Regions from separate parts of the Homo sapiens genome. Here all the other regions are linked to region 3. The links are contacts of gene promoters, found by promoter capture Hi-C in human tissues and cell types (Jung and others, 2019). All regions are on one chromosome and are shown on one strand. The core of a region is centred on a gene start or on the middle of the fragment in contact, and the rest is flanking DNA. Distances in the headings are between cores, read along the strand shown. Region 1 overlaps LOC101927118 (a long non-coding RNA gene). Region 2 overlaps LOC101927118 (a long non-coding RNA gene). Region 3 holds the start of PMP2 (peripheral myelin protein 2).

What was found. Contacts are between HindIII fragments. The study calls those that stand out against the background at their distance.
Region 1: a fragment that was not itself captured here is called in contact with the fragment with the promoter of PMP2 in region 3 in 2 of the 25 tissues and cell types used here (dorsolateral prefrontal cortex and mesenchymal stem cells).
Region 2: a contact is called between a fragment that was not itself captured here and the fragment with the promoter of PMP2 in region 3, in 1 of the 25 tissues and cell types used here (liver).

Annotation. Positions count from the first base shown.
Region 1 is chr8:81,508,661-81,513,435 of GRCh38, reverse strand. The region is part of intron 1 of LOC101927118 (a long non-coding RNA gene); the gene reads right to left. Among named protein-coding and RNA genes, the nearest start is that of FABP12, 23 kb to the left of the region's middle. The HindIII fragment of the contact is 4,592 bases long and covers 984-4,775 here.
Region 2 is chr8:81,491,121-81,495,827 of GRCh38, reverse strand. All of the region lies in intron 1 of LOC101927118 (a long non-coding RNA gene), which reads right to left. Among named protein-coding and RNA genes, the nearest start is that of FABP4, 10 kb to the right of the region's middle. The HindIII fragment of the contact is 5,989 bases long and covers 1-4,707 here.
Region 3 is chr8:81,445,623-81,450,225 of GRCh38, reverse strand. It overlaps PMP2 (peripheral myelin protein 2), which reads left to right and starts at 2,787. Exons shown (of 4, transcript NM_002677.5): 1 at 2,787-2,912. The coding sequence starts at 2,840. The HindIII fragment of the contact is 7,076 bases long and covers 722-4,603 here.

The DNA of each region.
Region 1 (4,775 bases), core at 2,030-4,529, 63 kb before region 3:
TAATGAAAAGATAAATGAAAGATAAAAGTCCTAGAAATAAAAAAATACTATAACTGAAATGAACATTTGCTGGATAGGATTAAGAACAGATTAGAAACTAGAGAAGAAAAGATTAGTGAACTTGAAAATGCAGCAATAGAATCTATCCAGGCTGAAGCACAGACAGAAATGAAGACTGAGAAATCCTTTGGCTAAAAAGAGCTCCCTTGCCCAAGTTTAAATACATTCCCAGAGGGAGGGGCAGCCATGACACAATGGCTGTCTGATATGAGGGTATAATCATTCCAGGATGTGGGCACAGCTGTTAGCCTTGTGAAACCTGCACTCCTGGCAGCTGGGCTTATGTGTGCCTCATCTTGGACATGGGATAAAGGAGTACAAGGCAGCATCCACTACATTGTTTTTGTTTGTTTGTTTTTGCTTTTTTGAGAAATCTTGGAATTGACTATGGAGTGTTACAAATAAACTCTGATTTATGCAAATCTCTTCTATGAAAACTCATTTAAAAAGAAAAATCATAATAGTCTTTTTTGTTTTTGATACAAAGGGCTTCCTTTAAATCCTTACTGAATTTTTTTAAAAGTTTGTAAAACGAATTTACAGACAACATAAATTATTTAAAAACAAAGCTGCTTTTCTTGACAAGCTCTAAGAGGATAGGGATTTTTGGTTGTTGCTTTCATTTATGCTTTGTTGTTGTCCCAACAGTGTCTGGCATACCTAGAAATGCTAAGTATTAATAAATACTGAATGAATAAATCAGTGAATCAATTAGGCTCTGTTAAACATGAAATAGTATTTTCTATTGTTTTCCTCAAGGTGGTGCTGTGTAGTACAGTTTAAGGGTCACCTTTAAAACTTTTTTTTCCTAGTATAGCTTCGATATTTTCTTTTATTATGTAATTTTTAAATCTTCCCATCTCTCTGATTTTCCAATTTTTTAGATTTATGTTATTTGTGGGCAGAGGCTTACTAGATTGTCAGAGGCATTGGTTTTCTTGCCTTTTCCTCCCCTTGTTTATCTCTACCTAGTTGTACAAGCAGACTTGCCTTTGAACACTTCCTGAAAGATATTACATCTACTGCTTTATTTCTACCTACTCTCTCTATCATTTATTATAGAAAGATTTATCTAAAGGCTTTCATACATTTAATGTTCAAGTTTTCATTTCTCTGTCTCTTCTTTGTTCTAGATGTCTGTTGTCCAGTATTTTTCTCAGTCGAATTTTAAACTGACCAGTCTCTTTGTTAAATAATTTTATTGAGATATATTTGACATAGAACAAACTACACATATTTAAATTATACACTTTGATATATTGTGATCCATGCATACACCTGTGAAACAATCACCACAATTAAGATAATGAGCATATCCATTACTCCCAAAAGTTTCCTCCTGCCCTTTGGTGTCCCTTTCCATGCCACTCCCCCTGTCTTTGCCCCACCCCATCTGAAGGCAATCACTGATGATCACCTCCCTTTCACTATAGATTAGTTTTCATTTTCTAGAGTTTCTTGTAAATGGAATCATACACTCTTTTCTCTTTTTTTTTTCTGGGTTTTTAAACTCATCATAATTACATGTATCCTTCATTTCTTTTTATTTCTGTGTAGTATTTCTTTGTATAGATACCATAATTTGTTTATCTGTTCACTTATTGGTATACTTTAGGGTTATTTTATGTTTCTGCCTATTGCAAATAAAGCAGCTATAAGCAGTTATGCATAGACCTTTCCCTGGACACTTATTTCTTTTGGATAAATACCAAGGGATGGAATGGCTAGATCATATGGTAAGTGCATGCTTAATTTTAAAGAAATTTTCAACCAATATTTCAAAGTGGATATACTATTTAACGTTCTCACCAGCAGTGTATGAAAGTTTCAGTTTCTTCACATCCTTGTCAACATTTGGGTCAGTCTTTTTCATTTTAGCTATTCTAACATGTGTATAGTAGTGACCGTCCTCTTTTTATTATAATTTTTCTATGTTTAGATACATTTCCAGATTTTTATAAGTTCTATGAAATCTTATATATACTGACCCTAATTATTAGACATAAAGGTGAAATGTATGAATGAAGAAAATGTCTTTTAAGAAATTGGGGGAGTAAAATTATGATGGGTTATTCTCAAAAAGATTGACTCTAGAGACAATAAGGTCCATGTGTTAAGTATTAGCCTCCCATATAGGAGAAACTAGTACAGGTCCAGGAGGAATAATTTGAGAGATATCATGAAAGCTTTTCTTCATTCCCCTTCTCCTCTGAGATCTCCTATCAGGAGAACTCTAATGACACATTTTCCCTTTGACTCTTCAAAATGTTTCTATCTTCAAGAGTTCCATTTTGAAACCAAATACTACTTAAAGGAAAAGGACTACCTTAGGCCCAGTTGTCACCTAACACTGGATGAGTTTAAGTTTTGCAAGGTCTTATGGGCAAGCAGCCTTATGGTCTACAGGCTATTGATGTAACTGCACCATCAGGGTAGTATCTCTCCTTTTTGCCCTCCTACAAAACTCTAAAGATTTCAGGCTACTCATAAATGCAAATACCTGACTGAGCTCTGTGGAGCTAAAAGTGTGCTATGCCCATTCCACTGCTGCAGATACTCTGTTTTACCATAGATATTGTGCATTCTTTCACATTGTTCATGAAAAATTAACAATCTAAGCACAGGTGAATGCAAATATAAAACAAATTTATCATAGCAAATATGTCAATATTTGTCAACTCTATGAGCACAGATAATATTTCTCTTTTTTATTAAAAAAGAGCATCTTTAATTGATTCCTCAGATAACTTTTTTTCCAGATTGTTCTTATGTTTTCTTTTTGGCTGATATTCAAATTCAGGAGATACACAAATAAAATACAGTACATACACAAATGAAATGCTAATAAAATCATCTCTACGGAACAAAGGCAGGATAGTGTATCAGAGGAATAAAAGCAAATGTGAATAAGGGATTTTTACTCTCCAAAACTATAGGCTTCATTTGGCCTTGAGAGAGCCATTGGGCAAGGCATCTTGTGACAGGAGCCATAGGGATGTTGGTAGGGCTATGAGATAAGAGCAGTATACATAACCCTCACCTAGAACAAATGGGCAGAGCTCAGAAAGAGACATGCCACTAAAAATGCTTCTCCTGGCCACAGGGTTTTCTGTGCAGCCTCCCATGGATCAACATACCAGTTGGTCAACCCACACATCAGTATTTTCATCCTTTAGAAGCAATGATGGTATTTGCACTGGGAACTGTGATCTATGTATTAATGGGGCAGCATGAGTCAACTGTAGTAAATTTTCTAAATATTTATTTACTTTTAAAATAAACTTTATTTTTAAAGCACCTTTAAGTTCACAGCAAAATTGAGTTGAAGATACAGTGATTTCTCATCTACCCTGTCTCTACACATGCCTAGCCTCTCCCATTACCAACATCCCCCACCACAGCGACGCAGTTGTTACAACTGGACAACCTACACTGACACATCATTATCACCCAAAGTCCCTGGTTTATGTTAGAGTTCACTGTTGGTGTTGTACATTATATGGGTTTGGACAAATGTATAATGACAACTATCTACCATTATAGTATCATACAGAATCGTTTCACTGCCCTAAACATCCTCTGTGCTTATTCATTCCTCTCTTCCCCCTAACTCCCGGCAACCACTGATCTTTTTCATTTGTTCCGGGATATTATATAGTTGGAATTGTGCAGTAGGTGGCCTTTCTTATTGATTTCTTTTACTTAGTGATGCATTTAAGTTTCCTGTGTGATTTTTCATAGCTAGATAACACATTTCTTTTTATCACTGAATATTCCATTGTCTGCATGTACCACGGGTTATCCATTTACCTACTGAAGGACATCTTGGTTGCTTCCAAGTTAGAGCAAAATTATTAATGAAGCTGTTAAAACATCTATGTGCAGATTTTTGTGTGGACATATGTTTTCAATTGTTTTGGGTAAATACCAAGGAGTGCAGTTGCGTGGTATAGTGATGACGGGGAGAGTAAGTTTAGTTTTGAAGTAAGCTGCAAAACTGTCTTCCAAAGTGGCTGTACCATTTTGTACCCACTGGCAATGAATCAGAGTTCCCATTGATCCACATCCTCACTAGCATTTGGTGTTGCAGTGTTCTGAATGTTGTTCGTTCTAATAGGCATGTAGTGGTATCTTGTTGTTTTATTTGAAATTCGCTGATGACATATGATGTGGAGCATCTTTTCATATGCTTATTTGTCACCTGTTTATCTTCTTTTGTGAGGTATCTGTTCAAGTGTTTTGCCCATTTTTAAATCAAGTTATTCATCTTCCCATTGTTGAGTTTCAAGAGTTATTTGTACATTTTGAATAACAGTGTTTTATCAGATATATTGTTTGCAAATATTTTCTCCCAGTCTGTGGCTTGTCTTCTTGTTCTCTGGACAGTGTCTTCTGCAAAGCAGGCATTTTTTAATTTTAATGAAGTCCAGCTTATCAATTATTTCTTTCATGGATTGTGCCTTTGGAGTCATATCTAAAAAGTCATCACCATACCAAAGATCAGCTAGATTTTTCTCCTATGTTTTCTTCTAGGAGTTTTATAGTTTTTGCATTTTACATTTAGGTCAGTAATCCACTTTGACTTACTTTTTGTGAAGGGTATGAGGTTATATCTAGATTCTTTTTTTGCATGTAGATGTCCAGTTGTTTCAGCACCATTTGCTGAAAAGACTCTTTGTTCTATTGTGTTGCCTTTGCTCCTTTGTCAAAGGTCA
Region 2 (4,707 bases), core at 571-3,070, 47 kb before region 3:
TGATTAGGCTACCTAGTTCTCTGACTGATAAACCTGTTCATACAACATTGTCTTTAGTACATGTAGGACACTCTCCAATGAAATGCACTTCAGAGAATCAGCATTAAAAGAGAATTAAAATCACAAGGTCTTTTTATCTCAGAAAAAAATTTAATATTTTAAAATGGTTTCCTATACCTACTATGAGAAAAAAATCACCTGCCTTGAGAGCTATGCAAATTCCCAAGCACACTTTGTAAGGTCTGGTTTTTTTTTTTTTTTTTTTTTTTTTTCTGAGATGGGGTCTTGCTATGTTGGCTAGGCTGGTCTCAAACTCCTGGGCCCAAGTGATCCTCCTGATCAAACTCCTGAGTAGCTAAGATTACAGGTGTGAGCCACCATGCCCTGCTGTAAGGTCTTGAGTGGTCTTGAGAAAGTAGTTATGACTTAGATACAGTCCCAGAAATTTACATGCCTCATTATTTCAGAAGCTGATGAAAATACACAGTCAAAGGTTCTAGACTTCACCTCTCCAATTGAAATTTGAAAAGGTCCCATCATCTGCTCTAAGTCTTTCCAAGAGAAGTTGCTTCAAACTCTTCACTCACACACTTTTTCTTTTAGCAGAAGACCATGAATACTAATGTTTACATATAATGTTACTTATTTTCTCATTCAATTATTTGCCCTTTCCCAAGCTGGGTCCTTGATGATAGATAGCCAGATACTCAGTCTGTCACCAAATATGTGTCGAGTGACTGTTGACTACTGTGAATCAGGGTCTGTACAAGCTTCTGGCTCTTGGTCTAGTACTCAAGTTTGTGTTTTTTAAATCTACTTGCTTTGTGCCCATTTTGGCTATTTCAAGTGATAAGTCCCATTGAAAGCAAGTCCCATTTTAAGCCAGTTCCTCTGAGAGGAAATAGGTCATCTATTGGTAGGAGTTTAAAGAATATGATCTCTTTGGAGGGCACTTTAAAACTTTAAATATATATCAACATTTAAATGTATATAACCATTGGTCCATCAATTCTACCTCTAGCATGAATTATAGCAAAATATTTACACAACTAAACAAAGGTATATATGTACAAGAATGTTTACTAAAACAATTTTTAATAATGAAAAGCTGGAGTATTGGTTAAAACATGGCACCTATGTAAATGGAATACTTGGCAGCAATTTTTTTAAAAAATAAGACATATCTATACCACTGACACGAAAAGATGACCACAGTGTATTACTAAGTGGAGAGGAAGGTTATGGAAAGAGTGTATACATACACAGTCTTGATATTGTGAAAGAAAAATAAATATTGGGGCCCTCAAATCGCTAAGCTAAAGGGAAAAGTCAAGTTGGGAACTGCTCGGGGCAAACCTGCCTACCATTCTATTCAAAGACACCCCTCTGCTCACTGAGATAAATGCATATCTGATTGCCTCCTTTGGAGAGGCTAATCAGAAACTCAAAAGAATGCAACCACTTGTCTTTTATCTACCTATGACCTGGAAGCCCCCTCCCTGCTTAGAGTTGTCCTGCATGTTTGTTTCGAGATGTCCCACCTTTCTGGACCAAACCAATGTTCAACTTACATATATATTGATGGATGTCTCATGCATCCCTAAAATGTATAAAACCAAACTGTGCTCTGGCCACCTTGGGCACATGTCATCAAGACCTCCTAGGCCGGGCGCGGTGGCTCACGCCTGTAATCCCAGCACTATGGGAGGCCGAGGTGGGTGGATCACGAGGTCAGGAGATCGAGACGTTCCTGGCTAAAACTGTGAAACCCCGTCTCTACTAAAAATACAAAAAATTAGCCGGGCGTGGTGGCGGGTGTCTGTAATCCCAGCTACTTGGGAGGCTGAGGCAGAAGAATGGCGTGAACCTGGGAGGCGGAGCTTGCAGTGACCTGAGATCGCGCCACTGCACTCCAGCCTGGGCGACAGAGCGAGACTCCGTCTCAAAATAAAACAAAAACAAAAACAAACAAACAAAAAAAACTCCTGAGGCTGTGTCACGGGCCCGTGTCCTCAACCTTATCAAAATAAACTTTCTAAACTAACTGAGAGCTGTCTCAGATTTTTGGGGTTCACAATATTATCCAATGTCTTTAATAAAATTCATATTCCATGTGTATGTTTGCATATGTATTGAAAAAGACTGAAAAGTGTATTCATGGAATTGTTAAAACTTATGATCACTGAAGAATGACACAATTACTTTCTCTTCTATATAGTTTGAATTTTTGTATCAAGTATATATTAATCTTTAAAATATCAAAAATATTCTCATCTGGAGAAGAAAATTTTCCACTATGAAAAGAGGAGAGTGTTAACATGGTATTATCTCTTAAGAAAAAAAATCTTGTTCTGTGTCATGGATATCAACAAAACTCATTTTGAATTTTATGAATTTCTATAGCTGAGATTGGTCTCAAAATTAAACTTTCACTCCAGAATTATTGCTAAAGAAAGCTCAGTGTTTTGAGAGTTTTGAGACCAAAGATGATGCTCAGAGAGGCTATTCTGCATCAGAGAAAATTTTCTAATTTTTCCCAGCCCAGGACACACAACCCCAAGTTTGTGATTTGTCTTCTAGGACTATATTATTATTATTACTACTATTATTAATATAAGCTGCCACCTGCCGAGTAAGGTATATGTTAAGGAACATATGCAACTATATGCTAAGCAACATGCAAAATACTTGGCATTTAAGATTGCTAATCTAAACAATAGCAATAAAGCATAGTTTTTCAATTTTACAGATGAGAAAGCTGAGTGTCACAGAAATTAACTAGCTTGCCAAAGATCACAAGCTAGTGAATAGTGCCAATCAAATTTCAACATGTCTTAATACCAGAGCTCATGGTTGTTTTATTCCATAACACAGTTTATAAGGCAACCAAGAAAATGTCACAGGTATGTTCATATCCATTGAATATAAGCTTTAATACAATGACAAAGTTGTAAAGGATGATAGTCTCTTCACAGCATAGAATTGCCATCAAGAATCTTGCAGCAGAAGGAATAACATCTAGATGTGGAGAATCTTGGCAAGCCACAGTAATAAATGCAGTAATTTATTCTGCATTTATTCACATTTCACCTAGTGAGAGAGGATTTTCGTCAAGAGGGAAGTTAACACCCAGATGGCAAATGTATTTCACAGATGCCTGACGTTTGTGGTTTCTTACTCGATCAGAGTTCACTGGGGGAAATCTCACAGCAAAAGTGCCTCCCAGAAAGAATACTCAGTGTTTCCTTGTAATCAAAATTGTTCCTGGATGAGCTGCTCCTGTTCTGTCTCTTTATCAGCATCTCATCACAGTTAGTGCCTATTGTGGCATCTGCTGCTATCTGGTGTTTTCATTCCAGCACATGGTTCTCACTTTGTCTGCAAACTTAAGGTACCTGTGTCTTCATCCCAATGTGCCATCTCTCACTTTTCCCCTTCCTCTCTCATTCCTCTTTACTTTTTTTCTCCTTATTTTTCTCTTTCTCCTCTCTAACCTCTTCCCCATTTTTCTCTCTCAAACATTATTTCCCAAGTGTCTACTATGAACCAGAAACTCATGCCTACTGTTTGCCAGAAATGCTCTGCATGTACAACTGCCCCTTCAAGAAGCTCACAGTCTGAGGCCGGATGCGGTGGTTCACGCCTGTAATCCCAGCACTTTGGGAGGCCAAGGTGGGTGGATCACTTTAGGTCAGGAGCTCCAGACCAGCCTGGCCAACATGGTGAAACCCTGTCTCCACTAAAAATACAAAAATGAGCCAGGTGTGGTGGTGCACTCCTGTAATCCCAGTTACTCGGGAGGCGAGGCACAAGAATCGCCTGAACCTGGGAGGCAGAGGCTGCAGTAAGCTGAGATTGTGCCATTGCACTCCAGCTGGGCAACAGAGCAAGACTCTGTCAAAAAAAAAAAAAAAACCCAAGACGCTCATAGTCTGGAGGTCAGAAACATAAGCACATATGGTTATGATGTGCAAAGTGCTATGAGATCACAGAAGAATTATGGCTTTTCAGAGAAATTGAACTAAAATCTCATGTTCCTTAAATCCATTTGCATGTTACACTCTAATAAAGTTTATGATGTGATTAAAAACTGCTTTGCTTATTGATTAAGGAGTTCCAGGCTTTCTGGAAGGAGGAGCACAGATTAATGGGAAGAGTAATGGACTCAGAAAACCTGGATACCTTGAGTCTAGGAGTTCAAGACCAGCTTGGACAACATGATGAAACCCTGTATCTACTAAAGATACAAAAAATTAATCAGGCATGGTGACACATGCCTGTAGTCCCAGCTATTCAGGGAGGCTGAGATGGGAGAATCACCTGAGCCTGGGAAGTCAAGGCTGCAGTGAGCTGAGATCAGCCCAGGCAATTGGAGTGAGACCCTGTCTACAAAAAAAAAGAAGAAGAAGAAGAAAACCTGGTTACTAGGGCAACTCTGCCACTATTGTTTGTCTAACCTTGGTCCATTTTCTCATAAAAAACTAACTTCACTATATATGTATAAAATATCTTCTACCTATAATATTTTGAAATTTCTTGAATTCTAAAGGGTCTGAATGTTTTTAGGACATATATCCACATGAAATAAGATGGTCAACCGGTACAAATATTTTGGAGAGAAATTTGGCAGTACATTTTTAAAGCCTTAAAATATCTATTTATTTGACCCAACATTTTCATTTCCAAAAATGTATCCTATGGATATCA
Region 3 (4,603 bases), core at 1,538-4,037:
CAAATAATTTCAAATTCATTACAATTAATACTTCTTGCTTCAAGCCTTTATCAAATCATGAGTAGAATGTAAGTTCCATGAGGGCAAGGAATTTGATTCAATAATGTTTAACCAGCACTTTCAACAGTGCTTGGCACTTAATAAGCTCTCAACAAATATTTTTGCAATTGAATAAACAGCAAAAGTTGAGTTGGATCTTTGGCATCCAAGTGGAGGGTCAGGAATTCTTTGTTCATTTGCTATGTAATGATTGATTATCTTATTTCTTTTTCAAATATATAATTGGATTTAGCTTGAAGACAATCTATAAGGAACACTTACATGGTTTGTTATATAGAGTAAGCTTTCCTTATTTATTTTGTTTGGACCTTTGGATCTTCCTTTCAGTGTATGAGTCAAATAACTTGCTGTATCTTGAGAATTTACATGGACAATAAATTGGTGAAGAGAGAAGAACTGAATACACATCATAGAGAGACTATATGTATTTTACAAACATGTAGTTCAGTCTAAATATATACATCTAGTTATAATGTGGTTCTATGCATTCTTTCTTGTTAGGACATTGATGACTTTCTTAGCTAGGAGTGATGTAATGTTTCAGGCCTAGTTCAGTCCGGGTCTTCCCTCATTGCTTTGATCTGTGCCTTTGGCCCATATATTGGCCTCAGAATCCCATCACGGTCCAAACTTGTCTGGTCAGTTCTATTAATAGCAGTCAGGTACAATTGCTGATAAGCCTTAAGTAGAAAATTTTTCTCTTGGTCTAATATTGCTTCAAAGTTATAAGTTTTCTCTCTTGGAAATATATGGCTCAATGTTTATGTTTTAAACTCCACTGCTGTTCCTATGTGCAACACAGAGTCAGCTTAAAATTCACACAGCTTTCTTGTAGCAGTCCCACTGAATACAAGGTCTCAGCTCTAGTGTGAGGGTTTGGGAGTCCTTCATTTATTTAGGCAGAAAACCTAAATGTTGAATGCTGTACTCCTTAATAGTGTACAGCTAACAAAAAAAAAAAAGTTTTGAAGGTACAAGTGATATCATCATTTCTGTAAAGTGTTTTGGAAAATAAAATAACATATCCACTAATCAAAAGCTTTTTCTTTCACAGTTGTTTTTTCTATCCCAGTACAATGTACTCCCTCCAGTTACATTCTCTTGGGTTTAGGATTGGGTTAGTTGGTTAGCTGAGGAATTTTCCTATTCACCATTTCTTTCCCACCTTGAGCTATTCAGGCACTGGGATTGTAAATGAAACTTCAGCCCACTGTATATGATTTCACGTGTTTTACTCAGCTTGAACTCTAACTATGTAACTGCAATAGTTATGTCACAGCTATGCGACTGGGTTTCTTGAGCCCTTCTTGCTAGTAATTCTACCTGTTATGAGCAAATTCATCATATTTTTGTTGTTGTAAACAGTGCCAACCTGTTTACTAAATGTATAAAACTTGGTAATATCAGTTGTCTCCAGCCAGAATTAATGCTAAGGTAAAAACAAACAACAAACAAACAACAACAAAAACAAACAAACAAAAAACCTGCTAGGAAAGATATAGCAGTAATCAGAGATTCTCAAGAGCAACACTTATGTTCTAAGTGGATTTACGTTTGTTCCCCTTGGCCAAAGACTGGGGCTTTGATGTAATATAGTAGGCTGGATCTTTTGATTTTTTACCTCTCTTGATTTTTGAGAAGAGAGAGAGTGTTTCTAGCTAATCGTGGTGCTATCAGCATCAGGTGATCTCTGGCCAGGGCCTCCGTGCACGTAGCATGTATGGTATAGTATAATAGAAGCAGGGTAAGATCATGGTTCAGAACCCGGGCACTGGCAGCAATGCTGGGTTCAAACCTGTCCTCTCCTTATTCAACTTTTGGGAGCAATTTACCTAATGTCCCCAAGCTCATTTTTATCATTGGTAAAATGGATATAATAATAGTTCCTAACTCTTGGAATTAGTGATATAATTAAATGAGATCACCCGTATTAAGCACTTAGCACAGTGTCTGGCCCATAGTGAGTTGTCAATATAAATTAGTACTCTTTCTATAGAAAATCCTCTTTATAAAATTGTAGATTCATTTTAAATGACTTAAACACAAATAGTTATAGTATCCAGGAACCTGCTTAGTTCAGACTTTAAGTATTTCTAGCTGAAAATCTTTGTTGTGCTCAAAGAACATGTTATAGTGCTACTTCTTGTTTCATCACATGAATACAATTTCTGTGCTCTGCTGCAATAGACTGACTTCTTTGTCTGCCTACTCTGCCTGCCTGGGATATGTGAACTATGCCAAGCCTTCTTACCTATGAATACTTCCTCACACTGCTCCCCTACGTTTCTCTCCCACAACATATTTGAGACTGTTATCATAATACTTACAGACATTTTCCTCTTTTTCTTCCCTTTCAATAAGAATTCTTAATTGTGCAGACTCAGGATTGAGAGTGACCGACATGCCTAAACACACACACATTCATTCATGATCACAGAATTCATGCAGTCTTTTCCAAAGCATGAAGGGCCTAAGCCTTCTTATAAATGTAAGATTGATCAAAAAATTTTTGAAGATTCAAATAGTAATCTCATTCATTTTATAAATTTTTTTGGAGACAAAGGGAAGTATTATGTGGGGTTTTCTTTTATCCTATTGGGCGGGCAGCTGGCCATTGAAGAGCCATTCATTGCTTAGTCCCGACACTGCCTTTCCCCATTGGGTCTCTGTAAGAGTCACACGCTTTGGGCATCCTTGAAAAGAATCTTCTGAGGCCTCAGCATTTTATCTGAGTCTTCTGAATCCCACTTAGAACTGTGTTGAGCTCTCACCCATCACGATGAGCAACAAATTCCTGGGCACCTGGAAACTTGTCTCTAGTGAGAACTTTGACGATTACATGAAAGCTCTGGGTAAGAAATGCTTTTTGTTGTTCTGCTGAAAAGCTCCTTTTTAAGAAAGCTACATGACATTTTCATCTACTACTTTTAACAGGATACTGGGGAGTTTTGCAAGGCTGCAGTACAATCCTCTTTTAGGATTAATCTTTTGTTGTGTCATTCAGATAATTTATTTGAATTTTATTTGTGGTAATTTTTAATAGAATTAACTTAAATGAGAGAGCTGCTTAAATGCATGGAATGCCCACTGATTTCAAGGGCAATTTCATACCAAGAGAATTTTGGTTGCAGGTCCAGAGGAGAGAAAGCTTAAAAGCATGGTCAACCCATTTTCTGGCTTTTCTGAGAGCTACGTTCATAGCAACTGAAGTGTTCATAAAATAAGGAATTGAATATATTGCAAATCCTAGAAAATCTCAATTTAAAAATTTAAGTTTTAGCTAAACTAACAGTTTTTTCTCTCTACCTCTAGGTTGTCCTTTATTACACAATCATGTAGATACAGAGAGTTTGAAAAACAAAAATACTTCCTAAAATACTGTGTTCATAGTCTAGGGAAGTTACTGAGAGAAAAAGAACTGGAGTTATGGCAGTGAATTCAAACTCAATTTCGCTAACATCAGACGTTTCTGGAGTTGGAGCAGTGAGTGAAGATGGAAAACCGAGTCATTAGTTACAACAACTTTATTTTATACTATTTCTAGAGTATGTCCCATCGATATAAACACAATAGATATGAAGAGTCTTTGGGAATTTTCAGAACTATATAAATACAATAAAGAGTGATGCCAGTGACCCGAGTTTGCTGTGCTTGTCAAAGTGCCTACAGCTTTACTTAACTGTTCAGAAAGCCTGTATAAAATGTTCTATTTTAGATAAAATGAGCAAAGTCATGTCATTGTTGCCTGGAACAGTAAGAGAACTTATGGGGATCAATTCATACTGTGAGATCGGTTAGATTTAAAGACTTCACTTTACAGCTGAGGAAGAAGCCAAATAAAAGAAAGTCTCAGTGAAGGATTTTCTAATTCCACTGTTTTCCAGTTTAGCATGCAAAATAACACCTTGGGATTTGGTAAATATAAATTCTCAGGCTCTGACCCAGAGATTATGATTTAACTTGAGAAACATTGTCCTAAACTGTATAAAATAACAAAAGATTAATCAGAATTTGAAGAAAGAATATAGTTTATAGTTTATTGGCTGTAACTCTTAACTTCTTATTCAGTATGTAAAAGTTTGAGATCTTTTTAACTGGAAAAAGTTATTCAACCATTGAGACTTCCTGGAAAATTAGTTTTTCTTTCATATATTTTTTATTTTACATTTTCCCTTTTCCATATATTTTATAGTCTTGGTAATAATGGTAATAAACTTAAGAGTCTAATTTTGTTTCATTTTTGAAATGTAGAAGAGTTTTTTAAAAAATATTTTATTTCTCTATGATCATTTATAATAGTATAGATCTCAAAGTTAGATGGATAGTTTTTTTCCTACCAGCTAGATATAGAAGCCACAAAATTTCAGAAGTGAAATTCTATCAAAAATATGAGGGGAATACTTCTCTATATCCATAATATGGTATTGAGGGAAAATATCATAGAACAATACGTATATGCTATAGTCTCATCTTTAAAATATATCTATAGTATTTGTACATACAAACTAAAATCTCTAGAATGATTTATGCAAATCTATAATTA